3 separate regions of the Homo sapiens genome follow, and regions 1 and 3 are each linked to region 2. Evidence: promoter capture Hi-C in 16 types of primary human blood cells and fetal thymus (Javierre and others, 2016). All regions are on one chromosome and are shown on one strand. Each heading gives the region's core, a stretch centred on a gene start or on the middle of the fragment in contact. The rest is flanking DNA. Distances are from core to core; before and after follow the strand shown. Region 1 overlaps CSRNP2 (cysteine and serine rich nuclear protein 2). Region 2 holds the start of CELA1 (chymotrypsin like elastase 1). Region 3 holds the start of CSRNP2 (cysteine and serine rich nuclear protein 2).

Region 1 (3,450 bases), core at 933-3,432, 280 kb after region 2:
TGCACTCCCGCCTGGACGACAGAATGAGACTTTTGTCTCAAAAAAATAAATAAAATGACAGTTTTCCAATTGCTGCATTTCTAGTGCTCAGTAGCCACATGTGCTAGTAGCTGCCATCATTTTGGACAGCACAGATATTCCCATGATTGCAGAAGGTTCAAGGGACAGTGCTGCTCTGGGATGGTCACTGAGGAGGTGCATGCCGCTCATGTCTATGAGGCTAACCTTTCCTGTCTCTTGGCAGCTGACCAAGAATGGGACAGTGGAGTCGGTGGAGGCTGATGGCCTGACGCTGGATGATGTGTCAGATGAAGATATTGATGTGGAAAATGTGGAGGTGGATGATTACTTCTTCCTGCAGCCTCTGCCCACCAAACGGCGACGGGCCCTGCTGAGGGCTTCTGGGGTCCACCGTATTGATGCTGAAGAGAAGCAAGAACTTCGAGCCATCCGCCTGTCACGGGAAGAATGTGGTTGTGACTGCCGACTGTATTGTGACCCAGAAGCGTGTGCCTGCAGCCAGGCTGGGATTAAATGCCAGGTCAGTCCAAGTTGGCCTGAGATAGTATATCTACACCAGGGTCAGCGGGGTGAGGTGTGGGTGCCACTGAACATGGGAGGCCCATTCAGGGGTGGATTCCCTATGGTTGTGAACACTCTCCAGTTCCACAACCCTCCTCCGTCAACAGAGTAAGCAAACAGCACACGGCCAGGCATGGTGGCTCACACCTCTAATCCTAGCTATGTGGGAGGCTGAGGTAGGAGGATCTCTTGAGTCCAGGAGGTCAAGGCTGCAGTGAGCTGAGTTCACACCAGTGCACGCCAGCCTGGGTCACAGAGTGAGACCCTGTCTCTTAAAATTTTTGCAAAGAAAACAAGCATGACAGGATTCTTAGGCTGTGGAGGTATCTCATCTTTTTTTGTTTCATTTCTCAGAGGTGATAAGAAGCAGCTGTTAGGAAAGGGATGAAGAGGAGTTAGTACATTTAACATTTAGTAAATGTTTCCTAAATACTGATTCCTAAACAGTATTTCCTAAATACTGTTTCCTAAATACTGATTCCTTGAGATAAAAGGAAGCAGGACTGGGCATGGTGGCTCACATCTGTAATCCCAGCACTTTGGGAGGCCGAGGCAGGCAGGCAGATTGCTTCCCAGGAGTTCGAGACCAGCCTGGGCAACATGGCTAAGCCCCATCTTTACAAAAAATACAAAAATTAGCTGGACATGGTAGCATGGGCCTGTAGTCCCAGGTACTCAAGAGGCTGAGATGGGAGGAGGATCACTTGAGCCTGGGAGGCATAGGTTGCAGTAAGCTATGATTGTGCCACTGCACTCCAGCCCGGGCGACAGAGCAAGACCCTGTCTCAAAAAGTTAGCAGAGGAATGGTGTGGGCCTGTAGATTCTATCTGCAAACACTTATTGTTCAGTACCTCTACTCCAATTTTGAAAAAATCAAAATAGTATTCAGAGCTTTATAATTCAGGATCAGACCTGGCCTAGCAGAGCTTAAAACCATAGTTATCTGAAAGAGAAAGTATCATCTCTTGTTGGCTGCCCTTTTTTTTTTTTGAGACGGAGTCTCGTTCTGTCGCCCAGGCTGGAGTGCAGTGGCGCGATCTTGGCTCACTGCTACCTCCACCTCCTGGGTTCAAGTGATTCTCCCGCCTCAGCCTCCCAAGTAGCTGGGATTACAGGTGTGCACCACTATGCCCGGCTAATTGTTGTATTGTTGTAATTCTTTTTTTTTTTTTTTTTTGAGACGGAGTCTTGCTCTGTTGCCAGGCTGGAGTGCCGTAGCGCGTGATCTCGGCTCGCTGCAACCTCTGCCTCCCGGGTTCAAGCAATTCTCCTGCCTCAGCCTCCCGAGTAGCTGGGACTATAGGCACACACCACCACACCCAGCTAATTTTTGTATTTTTAGTAGAGACGGCGTTTCACCATGTAGGCCAGGATGGTCTCGATCTCTTGACCTCGTGATCCGCCTGCCTCAGCCTCCCAAAGTGCTGGGATTACAGGCGTGAGCCACCGCACCTGGCCAGCTTTTGTATTTTTAGTAGAGACAGGGTTTCATCATGTTGGCCGGGCAGGTCTCAAACGCCTGACCTCAGGTGATCTGCCTGCCTCAGCCTCCCGAAGTACTGGGATTACAGGCATGAGCCACCGTGCCTGGCCCCTTGTTGGCCCTCTGATGGGGGACAGTTTAAGACACATTTCAGTTGAAAACAGCAATACCATCCCTAAGAATGAAATTTATCTGGAACTTAATTATTGAGGGTGTAGATGCTGAGTCCTTGTGGTTGGATTTCTCCTAACTCACTCTTTCTTTATTTTTAGCTGGGTAACAAATAACTGTGGTATATCTGGCCAAATACTGCTTTTCAGACCAAAGTCCCATAATGAGTCATTCTGTTACACACACACCTGAGAACAGTCCTAAGAATTGATGCAGCTGGGCCTGGCATGTTGGCTCACACCTGTAACTAGCACTTTGGGAGGCTGGGGTGGAAGGACTGCTTGAGCCCAGGAGTTTGAGGCCAGCCTGGGCAACATAGCGAGACCCCATCTCTACAAAAAATTTTAAAATTAGGGCCGGGCGCGGTGGCTCACACCTGTAATCCCAGCATGGCTCCAGGCTGCAGTGAGCCATGATGGCACCACTGCACTCCAGCCTGGACGACAGAGCAAGACCCTATCTCCAAAGGAAAAAAAAATGGTATAACTGGAGTGGAGATTTCTATAAGTCAGTATCATAGAAAGACATTGTGATTTGTACATGCTTATTTGCTTACTTGTGGTTTTAATTTTTCCTTTTATTTTTGGTTTATGTGTTTTTCCTGTTGGAATATGAAAGTGATAAGGAGGTAGAAAGCATCTCCTTTCCAGATATTCCTGGTCTGTAAGTTAATTATCTTGGTAACTGCTTCAGAACTAAACTAGTCAACCCTCAGGGAAAATAAAGCAGGTAGCTAAAAAATTGGCCACTGTGTGAACCTGCGTTCTAGCACCTTAGCAAACTAAGGCACATTTGCTTAGTTTCCCCAGAATGTATTTTTTTTGAAGTAGCAAGATCTTCCACTCACTCTCCCATGCCTGTCATTGCAGGCCATAGGCTTGGTTCCAGCCTTTTGTTGTCTCAGTGAACCAGGTAAGTTCTGAAAAAGTCTCTGAGGCTCGTAAATTTCCTCTGTGAAAACTATCAGCATTCAGAGAAGTATCTCTGGACTCTTAACTGGAAGGACCCTGTGCTGTGATTTTGTCTACTTGTTATTTAGAAGAGGAAACAAAGCCCTAGAGAGATAAATGATTCTCTTGAGGTCACACCACTAATTAATGGCTGAGCTGGGATTGAAATGCAAGTGGTCTGATAACTACCATCTAGTGTTCTGTTAGCTCACACTGCATGCTATGCTTTGAATTGGTTGCTTTTCTTCTTACAAGGAGACCTC
Region 2 (3,752 bases), core at 298-2,797:
GGTCCTGCTTCTGTCTAGGTTCCTGGCTTCTCCCTGCCTAATTCCAAACCCCATGCGTTGCTACCATGACTGCTGCACCCACAGTCCTCTGCTCTGGAGCCTGCAGTGGCTCTGATCATTTTGTGGCCAACCCAAGGGTCCTCTGCCCACCTCAAGGCACATTGCAACTCTTTTCTCTCTCTATTTATTTATTTATTTATTTATTTATTTATTTATTTATTTATTTATTTTGAGACAGAGTCTTGCTCTGTCTCCAGGCTGGAGTGCAGCAACCTCCGCTTCCCAGGTTGAAGCGATTCTCCTGCCTCAGCCTCCAGATTAGCTGGGACTGCAGAAGCGCACCACCATGCCCAGCTAATTTTTGTATTTTGTTTTTGTTTTTTTTTAGATGGAGTCTCGCTCTGTCGCCCAGGTTGGAGTGCAGTGGCGCGATCTCGGCTCACTGCAAGCTCCGCCTCCCGGGCTCACGCCATTCTCCTGCCTGCGCCTCCCGAGGAGCTGGGACTACAGGCGCCTGCCACCACGCCCAGCTAATTTTTTGTATTTTTTTAGTAGAGACGGGGTTTCACTGTGTTAGCCAGAGTAGTCTCAATCTCCTGACCTCGTGATCCGCCCGCCTCCGACTCCCAAAGTGCTGGGATTACAGGCATGAGCCACCGCGCCCGGCCAATTTTTGTATTTTTAGTAGACGGGGTTTCGCCATGTTGGCCAGGATGGTCTCGATCTCTTGATCTTGTGATCCGCCCGCCTCAGCCTCCCAAAGTGCTGGGATTACAGGCGTAAACCACCGCGCCCGGCCGCAACTCCCTTCTCTCTCCTCTACGAACTGTGATGAACAAAGCCTTTCATCTCCTGCAGGAACCTCGGCTCCTACCCTCGTTCTCCCTCTGCCCTCCACCCTCCATCTACCCTCATAGCCCTCAGACTGTCTTCACATCCCAAGGATCCCCTCCTCTACCCTGCCTCATATTCTCCTCTGGGAGCCCCTTCTTGGCTCTCCATCTGAGAGGGCCCAAGCCTGTTTCTCAGTACTTTCCTCCCCCAGAATTATCTCCACTGCATCTATTTGGCTTTTGTGTCTGCATTTACACCTATGCCTGCATCCTGGGGGCATGTGCCATCTCCCTCTTTGGGCAGAGAGAGTTGCTGTGTCTTCCTTGCCCTTGCTAACCACTCCCCCCTCTTCCACTATCCCCCTGGCCTCCAGCTGCTAGTGCACAGGGCAAGTCTCTGCATTTATGGTGCCACTGAGGACAACGAGAGAGTGATGGATGACAAGGGGTGCTCCCTTAGAGAAAAACCAGCCCTGGTTCTCCATCTTATTTCTGAAAAAGAGTTTGTTGGATGCTTTTCAATTAAAAGCAGATGATTAATTCAGCCCTGGCCTTGTTCTGTCTTTGAATAACAGATACATTAGTTTACTTGAAAAGAAATATTTTCATTTGTATTTCCATGTCACTTGTGATTTTCCCTGCCTTGCACCCTCAGCCCTGCCAGTTGGCAAGAAGACAGTCAGCTTTGCTGCTAAGAGGAGTATAAAGAGGGCTTGGTCCAAGCAAGAAGGCAGTGGTCTACTCCATCGGCAACATGCTGGTCCTTTATGGTAAGTGGATATGGTCCAGTCGCAACCCTGGTCCTTTATGGTAAGTGGATCATGTGGCCTGAGGTCTATAGGGAGGGGGACTTGGGCAGGAAGGTCAGCAAATTTTCCCTAAGTCCAGGCCAGCACCCTGTCCCAGGGCAGGTGGGACGCTCTGCCTGCAGAGCGTCCTTTACTCTCCTGGAGGCCAAGATAGAAAAGGTCAGGGCCACTGGCTATTCAGGCCCCTCTGGGTGGCAGGTCCCTGGGCCACAAAGCAGAGAGAAGCCCCATCTGGTAGTGGGGTGGGTCCCTGGGCTTCCCCACCACCCCCATTGACAGGAGGACTTCCTCAGCAGGTGCCTGGCTGGGGTGTGCACTGCAGGCCCTGAACCCTGGAGAATCTTGCCAAAGCATTAGGGGGCTGGTGGGGGTCAAAGAGTGGGGGGGGGTCTCTTCAGGCCAAAGGGTGATCTTGAGCAAAGAGGAGACCACAAGGAGCCTCTGGGGCCTAGCCTGGTGGTTTGAGAGAGGTCCTTCATAGCATGCCGGAGTTCTGGGAACACCTGGGGGAAACAGAAGGCACCCAGGCACCCCTGTTTTCAAAAGGGGCTCAGAGAACTCACAGCTGGGCCCCTCATTCGTTAGAGAGGAACTGTGAATTTGCAGACAAGGCTAACATTCCTCAAAGCACAATCGCCACCCCCCACCCCTACCCCTGGCTGACCCCATGCTTAGTCATCACTCACTTTTCTTCTGCCCCACAAAGGACACAGCACCCAGGACCTTCCGGAAACCAATGCCCGCGTAGTCGGAGGGACTGAGGCCGGGAGGAATTCCTGGCCCTCTCAGGTGGGTGTTCCTTCCCAGCCCCAGACTTCCACCCAAATAAGAGCTCAGTGCATGACATAAGGTATCATGTGTATTTGTGCATGTCCCTATCAACAAGCAGCTCTCCAATTGTCTAGGTTCTCGATTTTAAAGATGGATGGGATCAGGCTTAGGTGGTTTTCTAAATGCAAAAGGCTTGGAGGAGGGGATTTATACACCAACCACAGTCCCTCTTCAAGGCACACACCCAAACACAAGATACATTTATATTCTCAGCGACAGCACTTGTGCCACGCAAGAAAGACTGGGTGCCAGACAGTCACCTTGGACTCCACATACCTTGAAACTCACACGCACACCACTCCACACTGTGTGTGTCACAATGCTTGCACGCATGTGCGCGCACACACACACACACACACGTACAGCATGCTGCTTAGTTGGCTATTTAGAGTTTCCACTTTGCTAACAGGGCAGCTGGGCCCTGATTTAAGTGATCTAAATATGTAAACCTGGCAAATTAACTGATGAAGATCCACACTTTGAGAAGATATCACTGCAATCAGAGTTTTAGCTTATAAAAGTCTGAGCCCCAGTTTTCAGGAGTAGAGCTATTACATAACATGAGGTGCTAGAAGAAGAGACATGAACTGATAAAAACAAACATCCTATTGGTATTTTTTTTTTTTTGAGATGGAGTTTTGCTCTCATTGCCCAGGCTAGAGTGCAATGGCATGATCTCGGCTCACTGCAAACTCTGCCTCCTGGGTTCAAGCAGTTCTCCTGCGTCAGCCTCCTGAGTAGCTGGGATTACAGGCGCCTGTCACCATGCCCAGCTAATTTTTGTATTTTTAGTAGAGACGGGGTTTCACCATGTTGGCCAGGCTGGTCTCAAACTCCTGACCTCAGGTGATCCACCCGCCTCAGCCTCCCAAAGTGCTGGGATTACAGGCATGAGCCACAGCGCCTGGCCTCCCATTGGTATTTCTAAGTAGTCCCTGAAGTGGGGAGACAGGAGATGTCTTGAAAACACTAAAGGTACAGCTCTGGAGACCTAAGCCTGTTGGGCTTAGGTGATGGAGCAAATCTTTGCCTATAGTTCCTCTTTTTTGGGGGAGGAGAGGGGGCGATGGAGTCTCGCTCTGTCACCAGGCTGCAGTGCAGTGACGCTATCTCAGCTCACTGTAACCTCCACCTCCTGGGTTCAAGCAATTCTCCTGCCTCAGCCTCCTGAGTAGCTGGGACTACAGGTGCATGCCACCACGCCCGACTAATTTTTGCATTTTTAGTAGAGATGGGGTTTCACCATGTTGGCCAGGATGGTCTTGATCTCCTGACCTGG
Region 3 (3,639 bases), core at 350-2,849, 260 kb after region 2:
ATATGGTTAGGGAAGATCTCGGATATGGGGACATTCGAGCAGATATTATGTGAGGGAGTAAGTATGTGGCTAGCTGGTGGAAGCCAGACAAAAGGCCCTGAGGTAAGAGAATGATTGCCCAGTTGAAGGAGCTGCAATGAGGCCAGTGTATTCAAGCAGAGTATGGAAGGGGGAAAGTAGAAGCAAACAAGATGACAGAACAAAATGAGGGGGCGGGGTGGGGGTCGGGGGACAAGAGAATGCAGCTCGAGCTTGCCGAGCCTTATAGTTCAAGGGAAAGACAACAAAGAAGAAACCAAGGCTATGTGTCCTTGGCAAATCACATACAACTTTTGACTTCTTAATCTTGGTTTTCCCCTTTTTTTTCTTTTTCTTTTTCTTTTTTTTTTTGAGACGGAGTTTCGCTCTTGTTGACCGTGCTGGAGGGCAATGGTGCAGTCTTGGCTCACTGCAACCTCCGCCTCCCGGGTTCAAGCCATTCTCCTGGGTCGGCCTCCCGAGGAGCTGGGATTAAAGGCACGTGCTACCACCCTCGGCTAATTTTTGTATTTTTAGTAGAGACAGGGTTTCACCATGTTGGTCAGGCTGGTCTCGAACTCCTGACCTCATGACCCGCCCGCCTCGGCCTCCCAAAGTGCTGGGATTACAGGCATGAGCCACCGCGCCTGGCGCCCTTTCTTAAAAATAGGTTGCGGAAGGGCGCGGTGGCTCATGCGTATAATCCCAGCACTTTGGGAGGCCGAGGCGGGCGGATCGCCTGGGCCCAGGAGTGCAAGACCAGCCGGGGCAACATGGCGAAAACCCCTTTTCTATTTAAATAAATAAATTAGTTTGCAAAGTTGAGAAGATTTTTTTTTTTTTTTTTTTGAGACGGAGTCTCGCTCTTTCGCCCAGTCTGCAGTGCAGTGGCGCGATCTCGGCTCACTGCAAGCTCCGCCTCCCGGGTTCACGCCATTCTCCTGCCTCAGCCTCCCGAGTAGCTGGGACTACAGGCGCCCGCCACCACGCCCGGCTAATTTTTGTATTTTTTAGTAGAGACGGGGTTTCACCTTGTTAGCCAGGTTGGTCTCGATCTCCTGACCTCGTGATCCGCCCACCTCGGCCTCCCAAAGTGCTGGGATTACAGGCGTGAGCCACCGCGCCCGGCAGCAATTTTTTTTTTTTTAAAGAAAACACTCAAAGCACTCCCTCATATAAGTAGATAACTCAAGATATTGCTTGTATTCTTTATAACCTGCGCAGGCTGCAATAAGTCATATTGCTGAAGACTAAGACCCCATGAGCGAGGAGAAGGGGGGATCATGTTCCTAATGGCGTGTGGTCAGGACACGAAAGAAAAAGGGAGCTTTGGAGGAGAATTCGTTTATTTAAGATCTGTAGCTGAGTCTCCTCTCTTCCCCCATTAAAAGGTTGCAGCAGAGCTGCCGCCTCGGGAGCCGGTTTGCGCGCCGGCTTCGGCTTTGCAGCAGTTACCGCCTACAACTCCCGGCATGCTGCTGGGTGTGGGCCGGCCCGTAGACTCCATTTCCCAGCCAGCCCCGGGTCTCGGTCAGGACGTGCCGGCGCCTATAAGAGCCAGTGCGCTGCGGCCGGATCCTATTGTTAGCCGGAGCCGGGGCGGTTCTGGGCGTCTGCTGCCGGGGGCGCCCGAGTTGCCGGAGACGCCCGGCCCTCTCTGCCTGCCGGCTGGGCTGCCCACCGCCCTCCCTCCCCGCCCTGCCGCCCTGGGAGCTCCCCGGCCGTCGCCGCGGGGCCCGGGACTCGCTCGCTCCTCCCTCCTTCCCACCGGGCTAGGGCGGCGGCGGCAGCGGGGGCGGCAGAGACCATCACGGGAGGAGGCAGCTGCGGCGGGGCCGGTAATGGGCCTAGGGGTGCGGGGCGGAGGGTGCCGCCTCGTCCTTTCTCGGGATCGGCCCTCGGGCGGCCGTGGAGGAGTGGTCAAGCCCAGAGCCGTGCGGATGGAGGGGTCAGAAATGAGAGGCTCGGACGGGAGCGGTCGGGGGGCGGGGAGGTCGGGTGCCGTTGGGAAGGAACCGAGTCGGGAAGAGGCGTGGGAGCGAGGGGCACCGAGGACGCTGGCCCGGACTGCGGGGGCAGCTCGCGGGAGACCGATGGGCGGCTTGGAAGCCTGCAGGATTGCAGATGAGGATTGAGTTCGGAATGGAGTGGAGAATGATGTAGGATGGAGGAAAGTGAAGGAAGGGGAGGGGGAACAGAGGAAAATGTGGGAGGAGTGGTTGGGAATTTGTGAGTAGCAGGCAGGAAGGGATGCGGAAGGCTGGGTAGGGGCTGCAGAGGATTGGAATGAGCGGGAAGGTTAGCAGGAATCAGAGGGAAGTGGGCCGAGAGCTGAAGGGTTCGGCAGGAGTGTTCATTAAAAGGAACTGGTGACTTGACATGTCCCTTCGCTCCGGTTCCTGATGTCTCCCATATTTCTGGCGTCGTGTGGGAAAATGAAAGCATCAATTGCCCTGGTTGCTAGCTTGATCTTTTTTCATAGGCCCAATTACGCAGCCAACTGCCACCCGTCCCTTTTAGTGCTGTGGTCTTGATTCATCCTTTTAAAGGGGTTGAGAGTGGCAGTGTGACACACAAACTGTTCTTCAGAATGAAATGCTAGAAGTTATCCCCACAAGACAACACTGTCCCCTTGTCCTGCAGTTTTCAGTTCAAGGTAAATTCATAGTTCAGATTTTTTTCTTCACTGGCTTTCTGTCTTGCAAATCCACAAAGCCAGGATGTTGGTTGTGCCGGTGTTATAAATGACTGGATATCCTTGAGAGTTAATGCAGCATCATGTTCCAGTTCCCACAAAGATCTGTCTTCCACACGATGGTAGTTTAGGCATGGAAAATTCTAACCTTGTGTTAGTGAATGGGTAAAAATCGGGGAGTGGGGGTGGTGAGTGCACGGCTTTCTTTAAACACCTAACTTAAGCGGGGGGTTTTCACTTGGGTGCTTTGTAAGTTCATGATCCTGGTGATCACAAAGACACATGGATCCATGAAATTCATGGTATATGAGAAACAACCACAGTATCTTGTAAAAGGAGAAACAGGGCAGGTCATTTTATTCAGGTTTATGGTAACACAGCAGCAAGCCTTCCTTCCAACCCAGCTACAGATGGTAGCCCTGACCATCTTACTGGAGGTTTTGATTCCTTGACCTTTAGCAGAAGGTTGGGTTCCAGTCAAGTGAAGAGGCTTTCTCCTGTGAGATGTAGCTTATTACTTTGGACTCATTTAAGAAAGAGACTTATATTACCTAAACTTTGCAAATAGATTCTTCCAGAAAATTTTGCCTGGGCAGTCCCTCTTGCTGCTCTCACATATGCTGTTTTTTTTTGTTGTTGTTGTTGTTTGTTTGTTTGTTTGTTTTGGTGGTTATAGGAATCCTTTTAGGCCTGAAAAAAACTTAGATCTAGTACTAAAATATACATATTCTGGTGGAACTGTTTATTAGGTGCTAGCCTGATGTATTCTGTGCTCTGGATCTTAACTATTTCATATAACTTTGGAAAATGTTCAGCTAGAAACTCTTGAGAAAAGACCATTAGACATGTAGCCAGAAAGTGTCAGCTGACCTTTCATTTCACTGGCATTTAAAAGCTTTAAAGAGAGTTGCATTATTTTCTCCAAA

Evidence for each region. The method cuts DNA at HindIII sites, captures the fragments that hold promoters and counts their contacts. A CHiCAGO score of 5 or more calls a contact.
Region 1: a contact is called between a fragment that was not itself captured here and the fragment with the promoter of CELA1 in region 2, in 13 of 17 cell types (megakaryocytes, erythroblasts, naive B cells and 10 more). The highest score is 8.1, in megakaryocytes.
Region 3: the fragment with the promoter of CSRNP2 here is called in contact with the fragment with the promoter of CELA1 in region 2 in 8 of 17 cell types (endothelial precursors, megakaryocytes, M1 macrophages and 5 more); the score reaches 11.1 in endothelial precursors.

Annotation. Positions count from the first base shown.
Region 1 is chr12:51,064,764-51,068,213 of GRCh38, reverse strand. CSRNP2 (cysteine and serine rich nuclear protein 2) reads left to right here. Exons shown (of 5, transcript NM_030809.3): 4 at 245-541. It also overlaps a transcript of LETMD1 not described here. Among named protein-coding and RNA genes, the nearest start is that of CSRNP2, 17 kb to the left of the region's middle. The HindIII fragment of the contact is 5,071 bases long and covers 1-3,450 here.
Region 2 is chr12:51,344,474-51,348,225 of GRCh38, reverse strand. CELA1 (chymotrypsin like elastase 1) reads left to right here and starts at 1,547. Exons shown (of 8, transcript NM_001971.6): 1 at 1,547-1,603; 2 at 2,349-2,431. The coding sequence starts at 1,588. The HindIII fragment of the contact is 4,543 bases long and covers 1-3,752 here.
Region 3 is chr12:51,081,556-51,085,194 of GRCh38, reverse strand. It overlaps CSRNP2 (cysteine and serine rich nuclear protein 2), which reads left to right and starts at 1,599. Exons shown (of 5, transcript NM_030809.3): 1 at 1,599-1,856. RefSeq lists an enhancer at 548-1,174 and a silencer at 1,548-2,037. The HindIII fragment of the contact is 4,493 bases long and covers 1-3,610 here.